Regions from separate parts of the Homo sapiens genome. Here regions 2, 3 and 4 are each linked to region 1. The links are contacts of gene promoters, found by promoter capture Hi-C in blood cells and fetal thymus (Javierre and others, 2016). All regions are on one chromosome and are shown on one strand. Each heading gives the region's core, a stretch centred on a gene start or on the middle of the fragment in contact. The rest is flanking DNA. Distances are from core to core; before and after follow the strand shown. Region 1 holds the start of MANBA (mannosidase beta). Region 2 overlaps NFKB1-AS1 (NFKB1 antisense RNA 1). Region 3 overlaps NFKB1-AS1 (NFKB1 antisense RNA 1). Region 4 overlaps SLC9B2 (solute carrier family 9 member B2).

Region 1 (5,201 bases), core at 873-3,372:
TTGTGTTTCCTAAGCCCCAAAAGCCTTCCCATTTCTCATTCCACTGCCATTTGAGACCCATGGCCACCTGATTGAAACCTCAAGGTTTTGCTAAGAATTTATGAAGAGAGTTAAGAAATCTCTTCAAATTGTTCCTATGAGGAAGTTATTTCATACTATGAGCAAATTCATTTTCATTAAGTATCTGTTGTAACCAAACGTTGTTTCTTAGCTTCTTAGCTCTGTAATATGGCACAATAATCTGACTTACTGAAGCCACTCATTATTTCCCATTGGCTTAATTCTTTCTTTCTTTTTTTTTTTTTTTAGAGATAGAATCTCTCTATGTTGGCCATGCTGGTCTTGAACTCTTGGCCTCAAGAAATTTTCCCACCTCGGCCTCATAGACTCTTTCTATGTTGGCCATGCTGGTCTTGAACTCCTGGACTCAAGGGATCCTCCTACCTTGGCCTCCCAAAGCTCTCACGTACCAGCACCCATTGGCTTAATTATTTCAGTAAAATCAGGCAAGGAGGAACCCTACAAAATAAACACAGGCATTCTCAAAGCAGATATAAGTGAAAACTCAGAGTATACTGTGGTCAGCTGTGTTCTCTATCACAAGTAGTTTGTCAACTTAAAATAAAGTACTAAAGTTTGGGAATGATCTACTCTAAAAATACATCGGACAATGGTCAATGTCATTTACAACATTCACCTCCTTTCTGATACACATCTCAGGAAAAAAAAAAAAAAAACTACTAAGTACCAGGTCAGAAATTTGGCACAACCCTAGATGACCACCTTGTCATGCAAATAAACTTAGAATGGTGCTCCTGAAAGTCAGCCACAGTGCTTCAAAAACACATGATTTTTTAAAACACCAAACTAAGCATACCACATAGTATAGAGACCAGGCTATGGAGTTGAGACCACCTGGGTTAGAATTCCATTTCTTTCCATTTAGTTGCTGTCACCTTCCTAATTTCTCTGTGTTCCATAATTCCATATTATCCATAAAATTCAGATATGAACACTTACTATACAGAGTTGTTATGAGGATTGGACAATGTATGCATCCCACAAGTAGATCAATTACAAGTACATTTTGCCCCAAGTAAAGACAACACGTGGGAACGCTGTGCAAGAGGGAACAGCAAAAGCAGTTGGAGGATGGAAGTCAGTTTGCAAACCTATGCGCACAGGCAGCCAAACACGAAAACGTTCCCCACAAGTAGTCTGTAAATTGGAGACTCCATTGGGATACACACACACACACACACACACGCCCTGAGAGGAAATAGCACCTTTCTTCATCACCAAGTTAGCCTTAAAAATTATTTACCCGTTGTTAGCCACACTAGCACTGACAAACCCAACTTTACTCTTGTAGGTCATTCTCCACAACGTCTGTGCTGCGTCAATCCCAAATCTGACTCCCTGACGCTTAACAGCGAAAATAAAAAACCGAGACATTACTCAATAGAGTTAACCCTTACTTAACAAAACGCTGTTGTCCCCTGTGGCGTGCAGACAGTAGAGACAGTAATTCCCGACCTTATGCTTGTCAGTGACGGCATGCCCTTTGTATACACGCTTCAGTAGAGAACGACTGCAGTAAGTAAACTGCTAGTAGCAACACTGTTCCCCTATCTAAACTTCCCCTTTCCAGAGTTACTGATGTCCCAACATGGGTCGGTCGCTCAGTCTCCGTCAAGCCCGTACCCCATAGCTTGGGCATTTCCCCCCGCAGATCACAAGATGCAAAGGGGAAGTTACTACCAAACCGACGAGAATGGCCCAGAGCTGGGGGCTGCCAGGCGGTTCCTGGGCCCCTCTCAGCACCAGAAGAAGGCGGGCGCAGGCTCGCCGCGGGTCGGCCGCACGCCATACCTGGATCAGGCCCTGCTGGAACAAGGCGCTGTGCACGCAGCCAGGGACCGCCCCGGGCAGCTCCAGCGAGCCGTTCCCATTGCAGATGCTCCAGTTGCCACGCAAGCTGTAACTGAGCTCCGCGGCGGTGGTGCCTGCACCGCACAGCGCGAGCAGCAGGAGCAGGTGGAGGCGCATCTTGAGATCCCGCGCCACCGAGATGTGGAGAGATCGAAAGGCAGCGCTGCAAGGGACCGGCGGTGAAGCCACTCACCCCCTCGGAAGTAGCCGAGGCTTTAGGTCCCCGCCCCGGCCCCGCCCCTAGGTCAGCTGAGCGCTCTCCGGGCGCAGCCGCGGGCGGGAGGGGAACGAGGAGGCTGCGCCTGCACCCGCTGAAAGCCGGGCGTCGCGGGTGCGGGAGCTGCAGCCCCCGAGAATAGCTACAGGCTGGGGGGCATTGCGGTCTGAGCCTTCCCTCGGCGCTTCTTCCCGCCGCCTCAGTACATACAACTGGAGGCAAGAATCTTGCACGGTAATTGGGACAGAAAGATCCCTGGGCGCGCAGTGGCACAAAGCCTCGGGAGATCAGAGACCGACTGTACGTGGAGACCATAGCTGGAGAGTCCCCTCACTCCTTCAGAGAACCCAAACTGGGAGACAACCCACCACTTCCCTTCCGCCAAATTTACACAGACCCTCGTCTACCTGGTAGCGTAACACTCACCCCGCTGCAGCTCAACTCGCGGGTCTCAGAGCCTACCCCGCCCTTCAAAGAGTAAACAAGTACTAGCAGTATCTCCATCAGAAGGTTGTTCTGAGGGCTAACCAAGAAAATGCGACTATAGCATGCAGCATGGAGCCTGGCCCAGAGAAGGCATTCACGTTAGCTATTGTTACTAGCGGCCTGCGTCCTTATGTTTCATAAAGCCCCACGGAGGTTTCTGAGGTTCTGGAACCTGCACTAGGCGCGCAGCTGAGTTTAAAATCCTCTGCACTCACTAGCTGTGGGACCTGGGCAAGCCGCAAAATCTCCATCTCCGTTTCTTGAAGTTTTCAAGGTGTTATAAGTATAAAATGAGTAAACATATGTGATCGTCCCTAACAATGCCAGAGTACCCAAGAAATACCACTGACTTATTTCGGGTCTTGTAGTCAAATGGTCTACCTGAGTCCCATTTTTGCAATAGGATGTAACAGTAATCCTAGAAGTTAAGACGGAATTTTACATTGCATAAAATAGACTGCCTTTCTCCTGTGTTGACGCTATCTGCCGTATATTTATGCTTCGGAAGAAGTCCTTGAAAAGAAATTTTCTCTCATCAAATCTGAGCTTTGTTTCGCCTTACAATGGCCTTGGAATTGCCTGATTCTGCAGACACCGGGCAATATCTTACTTTGCAAAGTCAGCATTATTTACAAGCCCTGAATATCTTGGCTTAAAGGACAGTATGGATTATCCAACCCAAGCCGCTGGCTTTACAGATGAGGGAACTGAGTTCAAAGAGATCGGGGCCAGGCGCGGTGGCTCACGTCTGTAATCCCAGCACTTCTGGGAGGCCGAGGCGGGTGGATCACTTGAGGTCAGGAGTTCGAGGCCAGCCTGGCCAACATGGTGAAACCCTGTCTCTATTAAAAATACAAAAATTAGCTGGGCGCGTGGTGGCACGTGCCTGTAGTCGCAGGTGCTCGGGAAACTGAGGCAGGAGAACCGCTTGAACCCAGGAAGCAGAGGTTGCAGTAAGCCGAGATGGCACTACTGCACTCCAGCCTGGGCTATAGAGAAAGACTCTAAAAAAAAAAAAAAAAAAAAGATCAGGTGACTTGCCTGTCACATAGTGGCAGACAGGATTAGAACCCTCCTCTTCAAGGTCCTACTGTCAGAGCCCAATGATGCTATAGGGGAAACGCTCTCACTGCTTCAAAGCCTTCCTCACTCACTCCAGAAGCATTTTTACCTTTGATAGAAACAAAGCTCTCAATTCAAATTATATGCCATAATTCACGGCATTAAATGGCTAGCCATGGTCTGTGCAACACTGATAACACAAGGTTTATGGCAACAAGAGCGGCAAAGGAATTTTTTCATAATTCCCAGAGATTTCATTAAGCCAAATCAGAGGAAAATTCATCCTTGATGATACATATGGATATATTCTGTTTATTAAGAAATATAATTTTTAGAAAAACAATAATAGAAGATTCTCATTCCTCCTTTCATTCCAGGATGCAAGCATAACATCATTTAGGTTACTTCACTTTGACAACAGAGAACATCAAAGAATAATCAAAGCCCTAATAAGTACTCTTCCTAAAATTGCAATTGGCACAGATGACATGATGTTTTCATTTTGTTATAGGATAATTTTTGTCCATGATTTTCTGGTAAATAAACCTTATTTAGAGATAACATAAAACTTCTCAACTTATGTAATTTAAAGTCATGATACCAAATGCAATGTTTAAAATAGTTATGGGTATCTTTAACTTACACTGTATAAACAGATTTCATTTTGATCATTTCATTTGATGCTTCCCAAAACTTGAATTATTTAGAACAAGTGATCGTTCCCTGGTTTAAAAAGATAAATAATGCCCACGGTGATTAAATGATGTGTAGGGTCAGTATCCTGTCACAACAGACCAATGGAAGTAGTTAGGCCCTTTGCTATATGACAACATTTCCTTCATATCTAAATATATAAAATTGGTAAACTCATTAGAACACCATGGTATATACCAAGGCCAATGATATTCCAATCCCATGATATATTACAGAAGTTATAATAAGGGAAAGAAAATGAAAGAGTAATCAGATGTGGAGTGGACATTTGCCTTTAGACTCATAGTGTCTGATTAAACCCCAGGACTGGGGATAATAGCCCATAAGTATCCTGCCCAAAGGTTTGACATACTTCCCCAGAGTTTGAAGCCCCAAATGTTAGAACAAAGAGAGAAGGTAGTGGAAACTATGTACACCACTAGAATTTGGTGTGTCAAGGATGCATATGCATGAGTTTCCTATAAACCAAGAGGACACCGTAGGAAGTAACCAGGCTTGAGCCAGTATAATGGGATTCTACCCAAGAGAGTCCAAGAAGTCAACTAGAGGACACATGGCCTATGTCAGCAAACTGTGTATATATATACATATACTGTATATATACATATATACATATACGTATATATATACATATACTGTATATATACATACATACATATACTGTATATATACATATATACATACATATACAAATATATATTTTAAATATATATAATTTATATAATAATATAAATATATAAAAATATATAATATAATTATATTATATAATATAATTATATAATTAGGAATA
Region 2 (5,201 bases), core at 1,443-3,942, 320 kb before region 1:
TTATTATATTAATATTGAATTTCTGCTGGGGGCGGTAGCTCACGCCTGTAATCCCAGCCCTCTGGGAGGCTGAGGCATGTGGATTGCTTGAGCTCAAGAGTTTGAGACCAGCCTGGGAAACATGGTGAAACCTCGTCTCTACAAGAAATACAAGAAAATTAGCCAGGAGCGGTGACACACAACTGTGGTCCCAGCTACTCAGGAAACTGAGGTGGGAGGATCGCTTGAGTCCAGGAGGTCGAGGCTGCAATGAGCAGTGATTGTGCCACTGCATTCCAGCCTGGGTGACAGATCAAGACCGTGTCTTTTAAACATATATATGTTGAACTTCTTGTCCGTGCTAAGGAATGGAGGGATGAACCAGACAAATAGTAGGGAAATGTGACATTTAAAAATACTGAGTGTAAACTGAGCAATGTCATTCTTTACATAGATAATATAGCTCACACATTATGATGTGCACGGCTTGAAGCCTGGCTGAATCAAGGCTCTAGGATCCAAGTAAGTGACAGGCACTATCGTAGAACTCACCAGATATGATTTGGATATTTGTCCTCCCCAAATCTCATGTTGAAATGTAATCACCAAGGTTGGAGGTGGGGCCGGCTGGGAGGTGCTCAGGTCATGGGGGCAGATCCATCATGTCTTGGTGTCGACTTTGTGATAATGAGTAAGTTCTTACGAGATCTGGTTATTTAAAATTGTAGGGCACCTCCCCGCACCTTGCTCCCACTCTCGCCATGTGATGTGCTTGCAAAGCTCCCTGAGGCCCCTGAGAAGCCCAGCCAAGATGCTGGTGCCATGCTTGTACAGCCTGCAGAACCAAGAGCCAATTAAACCTCTTTTCTTTATAAATGACCCAGTCTCGGGTATTTATAGCAACACAAAAATGGCCTAACACACCACCTCTCCTAAGTACAAACACAGTATCTCTGAATTTTTTAGACTAAGAGATTAAGACCCAGAAGAACAGGAAAATTTCTTTTTCCCACCCATGTTAGTCGAGTTCGAAGAGGGGAATTTCTTCTTCCAACCATTGTTAGTCCAGTTCCCAGCTAAGAATCTCCTCTTCTCCGAGTGGCTGACCTCAGGGATTAGCACTCCCTTGACCAGAGATGATGTCTACCCACAGGGGTGTGGCCTCCCAGTCTCTACAAAGTCTCACAATAAAACTGACTAACCACCTTTACTCACACAGAAGACAGACAAAAACAGTATACAAATGTGTATTTTGTTATATCCCCAAATCCCATTGTTACAGTGTGACACAGCATAATAATTATTAAATATTTTCCTTTTCAGAGGAACACTTCTTATTCTAATCTTTAGTTCACCCTGCAGTAATGTTGGGGAACAGCTGTGGAAAGAGGAAATAATCCTTCTGTTCCCCACCCCACCACCTCTATCACTATTAAACACATTTTTGTTTTCAGATTCACGAATTTCTGAACATGTATTCTCCATACAGTTTTACAAAGTGACTCTTTTTTTCAGCTCTTGAAATTAATACCTCTTGAATTTAGTATGCAAACATATGCAAGTATTCTGGAAATGCAACAGACCCCAGATGACTAGCTAAAGCTTAGAGACTGTATGACAAAGCACTTTGAGCTCCCCAGACACATCAGGGCCTTCCCAGAGAGTGGTCTTCCCATGCTTGTAGAGTTGGGTTAACATTTCCTTTGGGTAATTTGAATACTTCAACTTCCTCAGGCTGCAGGTCCTAAAGCCTTTTGTATACAGGAAGAATGGTTTACTACTTCTTTGAGTTCTGGCTTATTAATTATAGCAATTATTTTGTTCACCTATACAGCATGTCAAACTGTTATTTATCTGCTTAATCAGCACATCAGGAAATAAAAAGCCATTGCCTGTGTAAGAAATACTGACCTGATGAAATATCTTGGAGGCATTCCTCAGTACCAATTAAAATAATAGACATTGTCACATGGTGCAATTATTTTCCAGAAAACAGCTGACGTGTACACACTAAGCTTGGCAAAATTCCTGGCTAATTTCGCAAGAATGTTTATTCCAAACTGAGATCATCTTTTTAAAAAAAGAAAAAAGACACAGACAAAGAGGGTAAGGAGGGAGGGGGAGATGAAAGTGGAGAGGCAGAAAAGGAAGGGTAGGAGACAGAAAGGAAGGAAGGGTCGAAGGGAGGGAGGAAGAAAACAAATAAGGAAGGGTTCTTCATAAATCAAGAGAAGATGTTAGATTTTAAAGTCGTCTTTTCTCTATCTGACCAGATATCTACCTAATCCTGCAACGAAATTTTATTAATTACAGAAGAGGTCAAATATTTCATCTTTACCAGAGATTCATTAATTTAAAATGTTCTAACCTCAAATTCACATTACAAAATCATAGCATTAGGTCTTTTTCAGATTTTAATAATTTCCCTAATTAACACAAATGATTTTAAAGGAAATTAATCAAGAAAAACTTTATTTCAGAGAGGTTCATGGAAGAGGAAAATATAGAGTGAACATTTACAAATAAAAACAAACATTATAGAAATGCAGAGTCATGACTGATGCATTCCAACCTTGTGCATGTCTGGAATACATCTGCAAATCATCTGCTCAGCCTTCAGAATAGTCTGTACACACACACAGATACAGCCACACATACACCCAGAGAAACCCAGGCATTGTCAAGCCTGGAGGAAGCCAATGTTGACATGTCAGTCCTTTATCTGGTAAGAAAGAAGCATGAACTGCTCTATCACACTTAGTTTGTTTCTGATTTCTGGATCCTACTAAAAAGCAAGGAGGATGAAATTTTTTTTCTTTTCTATTGATTCAGAATCTGGAATTTTGACTACAAAAAAATTTTTTTGGAAATCTTGCCATTAGTCTAAGGCAGGGGGTTACTTAGGGGTTGAAATCTATTAGCTGCTAATGTTTTTGGCTTAGTGAGAATAACAGGATTTGGGGTTCTGAAGGGAAATAGAGTTTGTAGCTTGCTTAAAACTTACTGTAGACCCCCAAATATTAAGATTTTAACATTTGTATTATTAATGATAATATTATTCTTTTTAAATCTGCGTACTGTTTTTCTAAATGTTGGGTTCTAGAGAAATATATTTGAATAGCACTTGCAACTTCCATGAGTTTCTTACCAATAGTAAAGTTATATGGTAGGAATCCCAGATAATGGCTTCACAACTCAATTTGGAAGATTATGTATAGTTTAAAGATGTTATGCTAAGTTTGCTTTAAGTGCTCCATTCAGCAAACTATGTGCAAAAAATGCAGATAGAATGATGGATAGTTAGATTAAATTATCGACTTTCTGAACTTTCCAGTTCTTACTCTGAAAGGATTTCAATTAAGGGGAAGAAGTAGTGTAGTCTTAATATAAAAGTATGAAGTAGGTTATAAATAAGCTTTTATTTTGTGAGTTTCTAATCAATAAGCTCATAATTCATGGTAACTCTTTTAGGCTAAATAAGATTATCAACATCATGACATTTTCTCCTTGCTAGATCTTCATTTTATATAGAGATTCTTCCCTTAGGAATAAAAAAAATCAGAGAAAAAATTTCATTATATATTAGGTACAGTAAATGAGTGAATTATAACTATACCTTTATTAACATTTTAGTTGTATTACAGTCAACAAGGAAAAAATGGTCTAAGGAGATACATTATGTTTGCAATGTTAACTCTTTCACATAACCAGTCTCTTTTTTTTCCCCTGAGTAAATGCATTTTATCACATTTTCTTGCAAATTTGTATCTTCTTTTCTTCCCTGCACAAGAAAAGTTTAACCCACTTACATTCTTTAAGAAAGCATTGATGAGACTAGAAATGATCAGTATTACAGATGTCAAATTAATGTAACATATTCCTTCAATCCAACATGCATTGAGCATCTACTACATGCCAGGTGCTCTGTTAGATGCTGGGGATACAAGTTAAATAAGATGCATAGGCCCTTAACTCAAGGAGGTGGCAATCTATTGGAGAAGATACTGACAAACAGAATAAAATGTGAGCTTTTTATTGTGGAAGTATAGCAGTTGGAACTCTTTGGTTGCAAATGACAGAAAACATGATTCAAACTGGCTTAAACAACAAAGAAATGAACTGGTTCACATGACAAAATTGGAGAAGGGGGAATGGTACATACAGCGTATCTCAATCCAGAGATTCAAGTGACGTCACCGGGATTGGTTTGTGCACCTATCTTAGGTCTACCTTCATCTGCATTGGATTTGTTCTCAAGCTCCAGTGAAGACTGGCAACTCCCAGCTCATTTCTTACTATGTATTATTTGAGGAGATTACTCTTTTAGTAACTCACATTGACAGAAGGGTCAGATTTGTAGAAGTTAATAATGCATCTTTATTTTGTCTTTCCTTTCCTCTTGGTTCTGCACTTCTGCTTTCCAGAATCATATTTCTAAGTAAACTTCCGGTACATAAGTCTTTGTCTCAGGCTCTGCTTTGGAGAGACCCAACCTATGACTGGGATGTTATTCCAGCACACATTAACCCCTAAATTTGCCCCGATCTATTATTGCAGACTCCCAACAACCATGCGTCTACAATGTAGTCATGGTCCCCTGGTCATACCTGATAAAACTAGGGAAAGAAGCCTAACAGACAAGGTGGGCAACTCAGAAATTTCCCCAGGGGTTGATGGGAAATGGACTGAGGAAAAGTTGTTCTCACTGTGGTGGACGAAGCTTAATGACTCGCTTTGCAACTTTACTGGAGCACATTCAGTGAGCTGATGGTCAGAACTGAGGAACTTCATCCATAAGCAGTTGTCAAACCATTGGGAGTTGGAAATAGACCACGGTGAAAGTACCTACATTAGAAAAATCAGCAACTGTTACAAATCCAGTCTTTTTCCACCCAGACAGCCAATTTGCTAGCACACCACTGCCTTCTTCCCTTTGTAGTATTCTAACACCTGAGAAAGGATGAGTGCCTTTGTTCTGTTTACAGAGCAAAGTACAGATGAAGCAATACGGGTCAGGCAAAATCAAATAATCTCCAAACTAAGAGCTTTGTTAACTCCTGTTGGGGCACACAACTTTGGGCTGAGGTCTCTCCTGAAATGAAGACCTCGCCTGAAACGAATTCTTCTTATGAAATAATTTTCTCTGGGCCCACAGGGCAGGTTCCAATTGATCTAGTAACCTATTATTGGGCTTAGAAACTAAACTGAGCTTGCCAGAGACC
Region 3 (5,201 bases), core at 1,402-3,901, 290 kb before region 1:
ATATACACATGTATATACATACGTGTATATATATATATATACACACACACACACACACACACCATGGAATACTACTCAGCCGTGAAAAAGGAACAAAATAATGGCATTTGCTGCAACATGGCTGGAATTGGAGACCATTATTCTAAGTGAAGTAACTCAGAAAGAGAAAACCAAATATCACATGTTCCCACTCATCTGTGGGAGCTAAACTCTTTGGATGCAAAGGCATAAGAATGATACATTGGACTTTGGGGACTTGGGGGAAAGGGTGGGGGGTGACAAGGGATAAAAGACTACACATTGATAAAGTGTACACTGCTCAGGTGATGGGTGCACCAAAATCCCAGAAATCACCACTGAAGAAATTATTCATGTAACCAAACACCACCTGTTCCCCCAAAACCTATTAAAATAAGTAAATAATAAATCAATCAATAAATAAAATAAATAAAATTATGTTTGTTTTAGATGTGCTTTTTGGAAGCAGCAAAGGTTTTTTAAGCAGTTGTTTTTTAACCATATTTGGAGAACTCTGTTTTAACTGGGTAGTATAACTCATTTAAATTTATTATCAGGACTGATATCATTTGTGTTGTTATGCTATCTGCGGGTATTGTTTCTTTTTTCTTTCTTGCTGTTTTCTTTCTATTTTTCAGGTTTCTATGCCACTTCCTCTGTTTTCTGTCATTTGCTCTTTGGGTTGATTTTATCTTCTGCAGCTTTGGAAGATATCAACTCTCTTTTAAGTTCTATTGATATTAGTGTTTAAAAATTATTCTTTTTCATTCTTTACTAACTTTCACATAAGATTTTAAAAAGTAACTATCTTTTTGCTTTCTCCCAGTTCACATTTTTCTCACTTAGTCATAGTCTTTCTTCATGTTATCTGGACATTCAGATCCACATTAATGTGATTTGATTCTATATGTAGTTTTTCCACTGTCTTCTTTTAAGAACAATTTCCAATGTTTGCATTTCATTTTTACAACCAAACTTACAACAATTATTTAAATCTAATGCGATGGTTGATTTTACGTGTCAACTTGACACATATTTTTTAGTCTACTCTTACATTCTGCAAAACCTTCTCAAGTAAGTCCACCACATCACTGATTAAATTTTTTTGTTATAACAAGTCTGCTTTTACTAACTACATTGTTGATTTTAATTCTATTGCATTTTTCATTTTCATGACAATTTCCTCTTCTCTGGCAGCTGATTTTATCTCCAGCACATTTCTGTACATTTCACACTACTATGTCTTTAGGTTAATTTCTACTCTCCTCTTGGCTTTCTGTTCCAGTTTCATAAAGATTATCTTACTGTTTTAATAACTGCCAAGATGTTTACCAAAATATTTTCCTGGTTCTAGTAGTAAATCATTTAAAAAATATGTACTCCCTCTCTGAATCATCGGAGAAAAAAATCAGCTTTTCTTGTCATTTTCTTTTTAAAAGCATACACAGAAGTTTTTTTCCCTCTCCAATTCCATGAAAAAAGAATTTTTTCCATGTAAATACCAACATTCAAAGTCCATGATCCTACCTCACCCCTTAGGCTTTTCTTTTCTTTTTTTTTTTTTTTTTCTTTTTTGAGACAGGTTCTTGCTCTGTTGCCCAGGCTGTAGTGCAGTGGTACAATCTTAGCTCACTGCCGCCTTAACCTCCCAGGCTCAAGCCTCCCACCTCAGCCACCCAAGTAGCTGGGAACACAGGTGCATGCCACTATGCCTGGCTTATTTATTTATTTATTTATTTATTATTTATTTTTGTAGAGACAGGGTCTCAATTTGTTGCTCAAGCTGGTCTTGGACTCCTGGTCTTAAGTGATCCTCCTGCCTTGACCTCCCAAAGTACTGGGATTACAGGTGTGAGTCACTGTGCCCAGCCCAGCCTTTTCTTTGGAGTTAATAGAATTCTCTTTTTATGCCATTTCTTGGAGATAACTTGGCATGTAAATATTCTAATTAAATCTTCATGTCTTACAGGGCTTGAGTTGGGGTCTTCTCAGACCTAGGCTGTCAACTTCAACTTCTTTGAACTTCTCATCCCACAGAATATGTAAAATTAATGGTCCAAAGCTTTCCTAATATCTATGCTAAGTACATCTAGTTTCTTTTAGGACTGCACTTCTCTGTATGTAATGAGTCACTATCATTCACACTACCCTCTGCCTAACATGCTCGCCAAAACTCCATATATCCTGTTGCTATGATCTAAATGTTGATGTCCCCCAGAAAAACCATGTGCTGGAACCTAATGCCTAATGTGGTAGTATTAAGAGGTAGCGCCTTTTGAGGAAGTGATTAAGTCATAAGGATTTCAACCTAATGAATGGGGTCAGTGCTATAACAGAGCTGCCTTGCCCTTTCCACCACATGAGGACACAATAAGAAGGCATCATCTTTGAAGCAGGGAAGGAGCTAACATCAGACACTGAATCTGTTCATGCCTTAATCTTGAACTTCCCAGACCCTCAAAGGTTGAGCACTAAATTTCTGTTCCTAAACCACCCAACCTAAGATTTTTTTTATAGCAGCATAAATGAACTAAGATAGAAATTGGTACTGAGAAGTGGAGTGCTGCTTTAACAAATACCTAAAAATGTGGAAGTGGCTTTGGAACTGGGTAATGAGCAGAGTCTGGAAGGATTTGGAGGAAGAGGCTGAAAAAAAAAGCCTGTTTTGCTGGAATGGACAGTAAAGCGATATTCTGATATTCTGGTGAGGGCTCAGAAGAAAAGGAGAGCTGTTAAGAAACCTCAGTCTTCTTAGACTTTATCTAAGTGGTTGTGACCAGAATATTGACAGAAATATGGATGTTAAAGGCCATTCTGATGAGGTCTCAGATGGAAGGAACACATTGTTAGAAACTGAAGAAAAAACCATTCTTGTATAAAGTGGCAACAACTTGGCTGAATTGTGTTTATCTCCTAGTGCTTTGTGGAAGGTAGAACTTGGAAACGATGAAATATTTGGAAGAAATCTCTAAGCGAAGTGCGAAGAGTGCAGCATGGCTTGGCTTCTGTTGACTGCTTATACTAAAATATGAGAAGAGAAAAACTAACCAAAGATGGAATTTATAACAAACAAGGAAGTAGACCTTAAAGATTTGCAAAATTCTCAGCCTGGCCATGTTGTAAAGAATGAAAAATTGTGTTCAAGGCGAACAGCAAGGGTGTGGCCAAGTCACTATTTGAAAAGGATATTTAGTATGGATGGGCAGAAGCTTGCTTGCTTCTATTCATCAAGGCAATGGGAGAATGGGCCTGAAAACATTTCCGAGATCTTCAGCAGCTGCCCTGTCCATTACAGGCCCAGAATACCAGGGCCTTGAGAACAGAAATATTTCAAACTTCTGCCCCTCTCATTCTGGTGCAGCACTCCTTCAACCCCTCAGCTGTGGCTCAAATGGGCCCAAGAGCAGCTCAGGTTTCTCCTCTGTGCAGATGCACAGGCAGTAAACCTTGGTGGCATCTGCACAGTGCCACCTCACCAGAGTGCTTGAGCTGTGAGGACATGGCTACCTCCACCTAGATTTCAAAGGATTACCCAGAGAGCCTCAGAGCCACTGCAGAGAGTCCTCACTAGAGCAATGTCTAGAGGAGCCATAGAGGCAGAGTCTCTTCTGAGACCCCCCAAAAATAGAGCCACCAGCAAGCAACTCCAAACAATGACAACTACAGCATGGGCTGCACCCGGCAAAGCCATGAGGGCAGGGCTGTTCAGACCTGTGAGGCCCAGCCTCTACCCCTGTGTGTCTGGAAGATGAGATATCAAGTCAAAGAAGATTATTCTGGAGTCTTAAGGTTTAACGTTTGCCCTATTGGGTTTTGGATTTGGTTGGAACCTGCTATCCCCTTTTTAAAAAAAATCCTTCCTTTTGAAATGGAAATGTCTATCCTATGCCTGTCCCATCATTGTATTTTGGAAGTATATAACATGTTTGATTTCACAGCTGGAGAGTAACTTGCCTCAGGATAAATCATACCTTGAGTCTCAGCCATCTCCGATTTAGTTGATATTAAGATGAGACCGAGTTTTAGACTTTTGAGTTGGTACTGGAACAAGTTAAAATTCTGGGGGCTATTGGGATGGAACAAATATATGCTCCATGTGAGGGGGCCATGAATTATAGGGGGCCAGGAACAGAATGTCATAGTCTAAATGTTGACATCCCCCCAAAATTCACGTTGAAACCTATTATCTAATGTGATAGTATTATGAGGTGCAGCCTTTTGGGGGAGTGATTAAATCACAATGGCTGTGGCCTCATGAATGGGATTAGTGCCCTTACAAAAGAGATGGAAGTGCACTGCCTTACTTTCTTCTATGTGAGGACACAGCAACAAGACATCATCTCTAGATCAGAGAGTGAACCCTTTCCAGATACTGAGTCTATTGGCACTTTAGTCTTGCACTCCTCAGCCTCCAGAAGTGTGAGCAATAAATTTCTATTGTTTATCCGTTACTCAGTCTATGATATTTTGTCCAGAAGAACTAAGAAAACTGTCTTGTTTTTTTCTAAATGAATATATAAAGATTACAGTTTTAACATGGATATATAAAGACAGATACCAATGGAACAAGACAGGGTTTGAACAATCCTCTGAATACCTCAAAAATAATGCCTGGGTTGTAAAGAAACAGCCCTCGTCACTTTTTATTCATTGGTAGAGAATCAAAGTTGTATTTGAGAGGGGAGCTGTTAGTAGCTTTCTCTACCTACTTGCAAGATGTAGGTATATTCCATTTCAAGAGGAAAAACAATAAAATACAAACAGATCAAAACCACTCATACTGGCCATGAATTGTGAATGGTGTTATTATTATTTGAATAACCTTAAAAAACTGTCAGGCTTAGTTTTCAATGTTATGAGTTTTTATCCTCTTCTGTGTCTTCATAAATATACATATATTTTGAGACAGGGTCTCACTATGCTGTCCAGGTTGGTCTTAAATTCCTGTGCTCAAGCGATGCTCCTGCCTCAGCCTCTGGAGTAGCTGATATTATAGGCATCCGTAAATATTTTTGCAAGGAATTCAGAGAGTTACTGAAACAATACCTGCTAGCCAGATGCCATTTAAATTTAAGACTCTTGCTCAATATTTAAAATAATACTGAAAAATTAACATTTTATTTTTTCTTCTTATCATTATTGTTGTTGTAGTTCTTGCTGCAGAGTAATAATCATAGCTATGA
Region 4 (5,201 bases), core at 1,044-3,543, 270 kb after region 1:
AATGAGCTATCACATTTAAGGAATGAATATACCAAAAATACAGGTTTTAAAGAATAGATTAGGATAAACTCTTTTCATAAATCCACTTCAATTATTTATTTTCACTAAATTTAAACAAGCCCTCTTATTCAATATTTCAAGGTGTCATGCAGAAATAGCAGTTAAAATGCTAAGCCATCCTATCCATCATACCTGAACTGTGGCCTTTGGAAGCCATGCAAAAGAAATAAATATCTTTTCTTTTAAGTTAAAACCAGCAAAACACACCATCAGAAATGTAGTCAAAATTCGTATCAATACTGCAATGCCTACGGTGGCAACACAAAGGCCTGTAAGAAATATTCAATTTTTAGAAATAATAAAATACTAGGAGAGAAACTGCATCTCATGGTTACTAATTCAAAATAACCATCAACAGAAATAATTTTTAAAGCATTAAAAATTACAAATACAAAAATGTTTAGGAAGAATATATAAAAACAATCAATATTAAGGATCAATCAGGCTATTTGTTTAAAATAAGGTGTTTCTGTAGATTAAAACCAGAAATTAAGCATATTTGAATTCTTATGTAGAGATTTGAATGTTATATATGTCTTATGCTTTATAGCAAGAACCATGCTTGTTCATGTGTGTAAGAAGAATTTATTAAATGATATGATTAAATGATAAGTAATAAGCTTTAAACTAAGTACTGTGTACACATAAATGTACAATGTATAGACTTTGCCTCAAAGTCAGAGAAAGACACATAAACAACCAATTCATAGACTATACAGTAAGTGAGGTATAAACAAACTAAGGGCATAAAAGAGGGAAAAACAATATTTTAACCCAAAAAGTCAATAATTCTTTACAGGGTATAAGACCAGAAGTGATAGCTAAAATATTTATGAGCCAGTATGGAGGGAATTAGCCAATCAGAGCTGGCTGGGCACTGACCAATCAGAATAGACACTGGCAGTCTACCACTGTTTCACCATACTGATGTGTACTGGTCGTACTGGTCCCAATTATCCCTGGTTAACATACACAGCTACTCCATTTAGTCCTGTAGAATTCTTTGCTGATAAAGACAAGTTCATCATCATTTGCCAAACAAGGGATTGTGAGTAGTGCTGCTACATGCTACTGGACCTAAGAATGATACAGCTAAGGTGACTCCTGAGTATTAGGGTGATTTTTTAAAAAGTAACATTTGTTGAGTGTTTACTCTGTGCCAAATGCTGTACTAAGCTTTAAATGTATTATTTTACTTAGTCCTTACAACCCGTGGAGTAAGTATTATTTTATAGTTGAAAAAACCAGAAGCTCAGAAAGGATAAGTAGTTTTCTCAAATTCAAAGGGCGGGTAAAACATCAGACAGACATAGCGGGAGGATCTATTGTAAATCTGCCATATGGCTTTTTTATGGGAAAGTTTTGTGGTTCTTTGTTGAAAGGTATTTCTTCAAGGTTGGAAAGTATTCAAAAATATCTGTAGCCTGAAGTACAAGATAAAGAGTTGATATCATTCCCAGAAGGAAACATTGAAAGTTTGAGAAGAGGATGAGAAGGAAGTTTTAGTTGAGTTTGAACGTTAACAGGACATACAAGTGGTGCTGTCCAATCAACAATTGGATATATTGATTTAGAGATAAATAGTTTGGAATTATACAGTTTATAGTTGATGTCACTAGTATAGATAAGGTTAGAGAAGTTATATAGAGCCAGAGGCACAAAGTTAGAAAGCAATTTGATAAAGGGCAGCATTTAAGCTACATATGGTGTAAGGAAAGGCTCAAACAGCACTGGGAAATAGGAAGTTTAAGAACTTAATATAAAGGAGTGTTAGAGGGTCAAAAGCAGCAAATGCTGCTGACAGATCAAGTAAAGCAAAGACTGGATTTAGCAATATTACCTTGGTGAGAGGCTGGCAGGTTGTGTGAGAGGTTGGCAGGTTGTGTGATAGGCAGAAGCTGGGCTAAAATGTATAGAAGGAGGAAATGGGAACTGAAGTGGAAAGGGGAATGTAGTGACCTCTTTTGAAAAGTCCGAAAAGAAGACAAGAGAGGTAGCATGGTAGAGACGGGGGGAAGTGAAATAGAGGAATTTTATATATATATAATTTTAACATATTATTTTAATATACATTATTTTAATTGTAGTAAAATACACATAACATTTACCATCTTAACCATTTTTATGTGTATAGTTAGTATCATTAAGTATATTCACACTATTATGCAACCAATCTCCAGAATTTTTTCATCTCACAGAATTTAAACTCTATACCCATTAAACAACAATTTCCCTTTACTCCCAGCCCCTGGCAAGTACCATTTATGAGTCTGACTACTCTGGATACCTCATGTAAGTGGAATCATACAGGGTTAGTCTTTTTCTGACTGGCTTATTTCGCTTAGCATAATGTTCTCAAGGTTCATCCATGTTGCAGCATGTGTCAGAAGAGAAGCATTTTTTTTTAAGATAAGAGAGATTGGAGACTAAATTCTGAAGAGAAGAAAATTGCGACATGGATATTTAAGATGTATGAGAAAAGGAAAGAATCCATATGCAAGATTCAGAAGGAGTAGCGGGAGATGGGATTCCTAGTATGGATGGAAGAATACTGTGATGGAAGGAAAGAAGGAAATAATGAGTACATATATACAAATTAATTTTTAAGTGCAGTGTTTTGAATCAACAGAGTTTTAATATGATGGCTTTTGAATGTAGGAATAAATAAAATAATTAATGAACAACAAGGCATTTCTATCCCATGGGTACAAACTATAGAACTAACTAGTTGTCTTTAAAATTCTCGCTCTTGTTCAGGACAAGGCTAGATGAATATTCTTACCCTTGGAAAAAGAATTGTTAAGGCCTGAATTTTCTGGGTAGTGGTCAGCAGTGTCACTTTCATATACAAGGAACAATATTAAATGTGTAAAATATACCATCTTAGATGAACAAGCATTATTTTCTAACCAACTACTCTAAAAAACTTACATCATAATTAACTTTTTATATAATTGTGACAATAGTAACCACTGTACACATACCTGCTGGAGATATTTCAATGAATATAAAAAGTAGACTTTATTGGTGAGTAGGCTGACCAAAAAAAGTGAATTTTAACAAAAGCACATTTTGAAATTCTTACCTACAGTTTCTGGTCTGAGAGATGCAATAGATACCTCTGCTCCAATTAGTCCAAAAAGAAGGGGCTGAAAAATGTCCCAGGCAACTGCAATTATCTTTTCAACCTCTGCCTAAAATAACAATAAAACACACACAGATTTTTATTATGTGAAGTTACAAATGCAAAGAATTTTATTAATTTGAGGTTTGAATTATTTGGCCTGAGATAAGCTTTATTTCTGTGCCATCTATAACTAAAAGGTTAGCTAGAACAGAGCAAAAAAACTGCATGAAGATCTTTCTATCACAGTTAAGATACATGAGGTGTTTTAGCATACTAAATATTAGTTTGCACATGGATATTAATAAAAAGATTCTTATAAAGTAATCTTATGAGGACTCCTACTTCTGAATACATCGTGTGTATGTGCATGTGTGTATACATATTGTAATATATAGTAGTGTTTTGTAGTTTAAAATTTTATGTCGACTTTCCTTCAACAATATGATTTAGAGAGCTTGCAATATTGGTACATATATCTAGATATGCCCCTATTACTGCTGCATAGTGATCTACAGTATAGAAGTACCATAGTTTATTCAATCATTTCTTTATTGACAGATCTTTAAATTGTTTCCAATTTTATCTGTACAAAAAATACTGTTTAAGGTTATCTCAAATCACGCACAAAAATAAAATCCAGGTTTACTAAAGTGATTATCAGTGCCAATTATCACTTTATTGCCCATTATCTCCAGCTCCTCTTTCACTGTTGCTCCACAGAAAATGGAGCTGGGCCTTTAAAATATTTTTCCTTTGCCAGGTAGCACCATGTTAAACTTTGTCAGTAGAGTGTGCTAAAGAGATATTGCAAGCTGAAGGTGCTTTTCTTCCTGGTTTCTGTGGCTCTTCCTAGCAAGATCTTATAGCATGCACTGGTGGCCTTAGCTCTAGGTTCCTGCATCCCAGGTGGCTTCTCCAGTATCAGGGTCCTACAATTCATGCAACCAGCAGCACCTAGTGGCCATTACATTCCCTAGCATACCCCTGGGGCAGTTTCGTAGCAGATTCTCTTGAGCAAGATACTTCCCCATGCACCCAAGGGGATGGATCTCCTGCAAATTGGGAGGGTAGATTTTCAGCAAATTCTGCAAGCACAGCACCACAGCGACTTCTCTAGGCTCTAACAGAGTCTGGATCTCAGCCCTGCAGGCAGGAATGTGGAGGGTACAGGCTTAAGGGGATGATCTATTATAGCCATAGGTGCTATTCTCATATTCTTTAAGGATGTCTTCACATCTTACTAGCCAATACCTTGTTACTGGAATCCCTGGTGTGGTTAATAATCAACTTTTCCTATTCCAGTTACTATTTGATTTCTCTTTCCTCATAGGACCCTAATTGATACAAGAACTAACTTTGTAACACATAATGCAAAAGACTCTAGGAAAACAGTGACACAATTGACTAGAGTAACATCAAAATGTTTTGTGGCAAAAGAAGCCATAAACCAAAAAAGTGACAAACTAGAAGAAAATATCTGTACCATGTGTAACAGAATAAGAAACATTGGCCAATCAATAAAAAAAAGACATAGATCCTAACAGAAAAATGGGCAATGAACCCAGAGACAGCATCATCATACTGAATAGGCAAAAGCTGGAAGCATTCCTTTTGAGAACCAGAATAAGACAAGGATGCCCACTTTCACCACTCCTATTTAACCGGAGTACTGGAAGTCCTAGCAAGAGCAATCAGGCAAGAGAAAGAAAGAAAAGGCATCCAATTAGGAAGAGAGGAAGTCAAACTATTTCTCTTCGCAGATTATACTATACCTGGAAATACTATACCAAGAATAGTACAGAGATACTATACCTAGAAAACTTCATAGTCTCTGCTCAGAGGCTTCTAGATCTTATAAACAACTTCAGCAAAGTTTTAGGATAAAAAATCAATGCACAAAAATCATTATTTCTATACACAAATAACGTACAAGCTGAGAGCCAAATCAAGAACGTGATCTCATTCACAATCGCCAAAAGAAGAACAAAATATCTAGGAATACAGCTAACCAGGG

The links. The method cuts DNA at HindIII sites, captures the fragments that hold promoters and counts their contacts. A CHiCAGO score of 5 or more calls a contact.
Region 2: a fragment that was not itself captured here is called in contact with the fragment with the promoter of MANBA in region 1 in 6 of 17 cell types (total CD4 T cells, fetal thymus, non-activated CD4 T cells and 3 more); the score reaches 9.4 in total CD4 T cells.
Region 3: a fragment that was not itself captured here is called in contact with the fragment with the promoter of MANBA in region 1 in 4 of 17 cell types (naive CD4 T cells, M2 macrophages, fetal thymus and 1 more); the score reaches 6.2 in naive CD4 T cells.
Region 4: a contact is called between a fragment that was not itself captured here and the fragment with the promoter of MANBA in region 1, in 5 of 17 cell types (erythroblasts, total B cells, neutrophils and 2 more). The highest score is 8.2, in erythroblasts.

What each region holds. Positions count from the first base shown.
Region 1 is chr4:102,758,846-102,764,046 of GRCh38, forward strand. It overlaps MANBA (mannosidase beta), which reads right to left and starts at 2,123. Exons shown (of 17, transcript NM_005908.4): 1 at 1,873-2,123. The coding sequence starts at 2,049. RefSeq lists an enhancer at 1,718-2,067 and a silencer at 2,158-2,287. The HindIII fragment of the contact is 23,862 bases long and covers 1-5,201 here.
Region 2 is chr4:102,437,442-102,442,642 of GRCh38, forward strand. The region is part of intron 2 of NFKB1-AS1 (NFKB1 antisense RNA 1); the gene reads right to left. Among named protein-coding and RNA genes, the nearest start is that of NFKB1, 61 kb to the right of the region's middle. The HindIII fragment of the contact is 1,400 bases long and covers 1,993-3,392 here.
Region 3 is chr4:102,464,247-102,469,447 of GRCh38, forward strand. All of the region lies in intron 1 of NFKB1-AS1 (NFKB1 antisense RNA 1), which reads right to left. Among named protein-coding and RNA genes, the nearest start is that of NFKB1, 35 kb to the right of the region's middle. RefSeq lists an enhancer at 1-278. The HindIII fragment of the contact is 1,147 bases long and covers 2,079-3,225 here.
Region 4 is chr4:103,028,555-103,033,755 of GRCh38, forward strand. SLC9B2 (solute carrier family 9 member B2) reads right to left here. Exons shown (of 12, transcript NM_178833.7): 10 at 3,146-3,254; 11 at 193-329. Among named protein-coding and RNA genes, the nearest start is that of SLC9B1, 11 kb to the left of the region's middle. The HindIII fragment of the contact is 2,118 bases long and covers 1,235-3,352 here.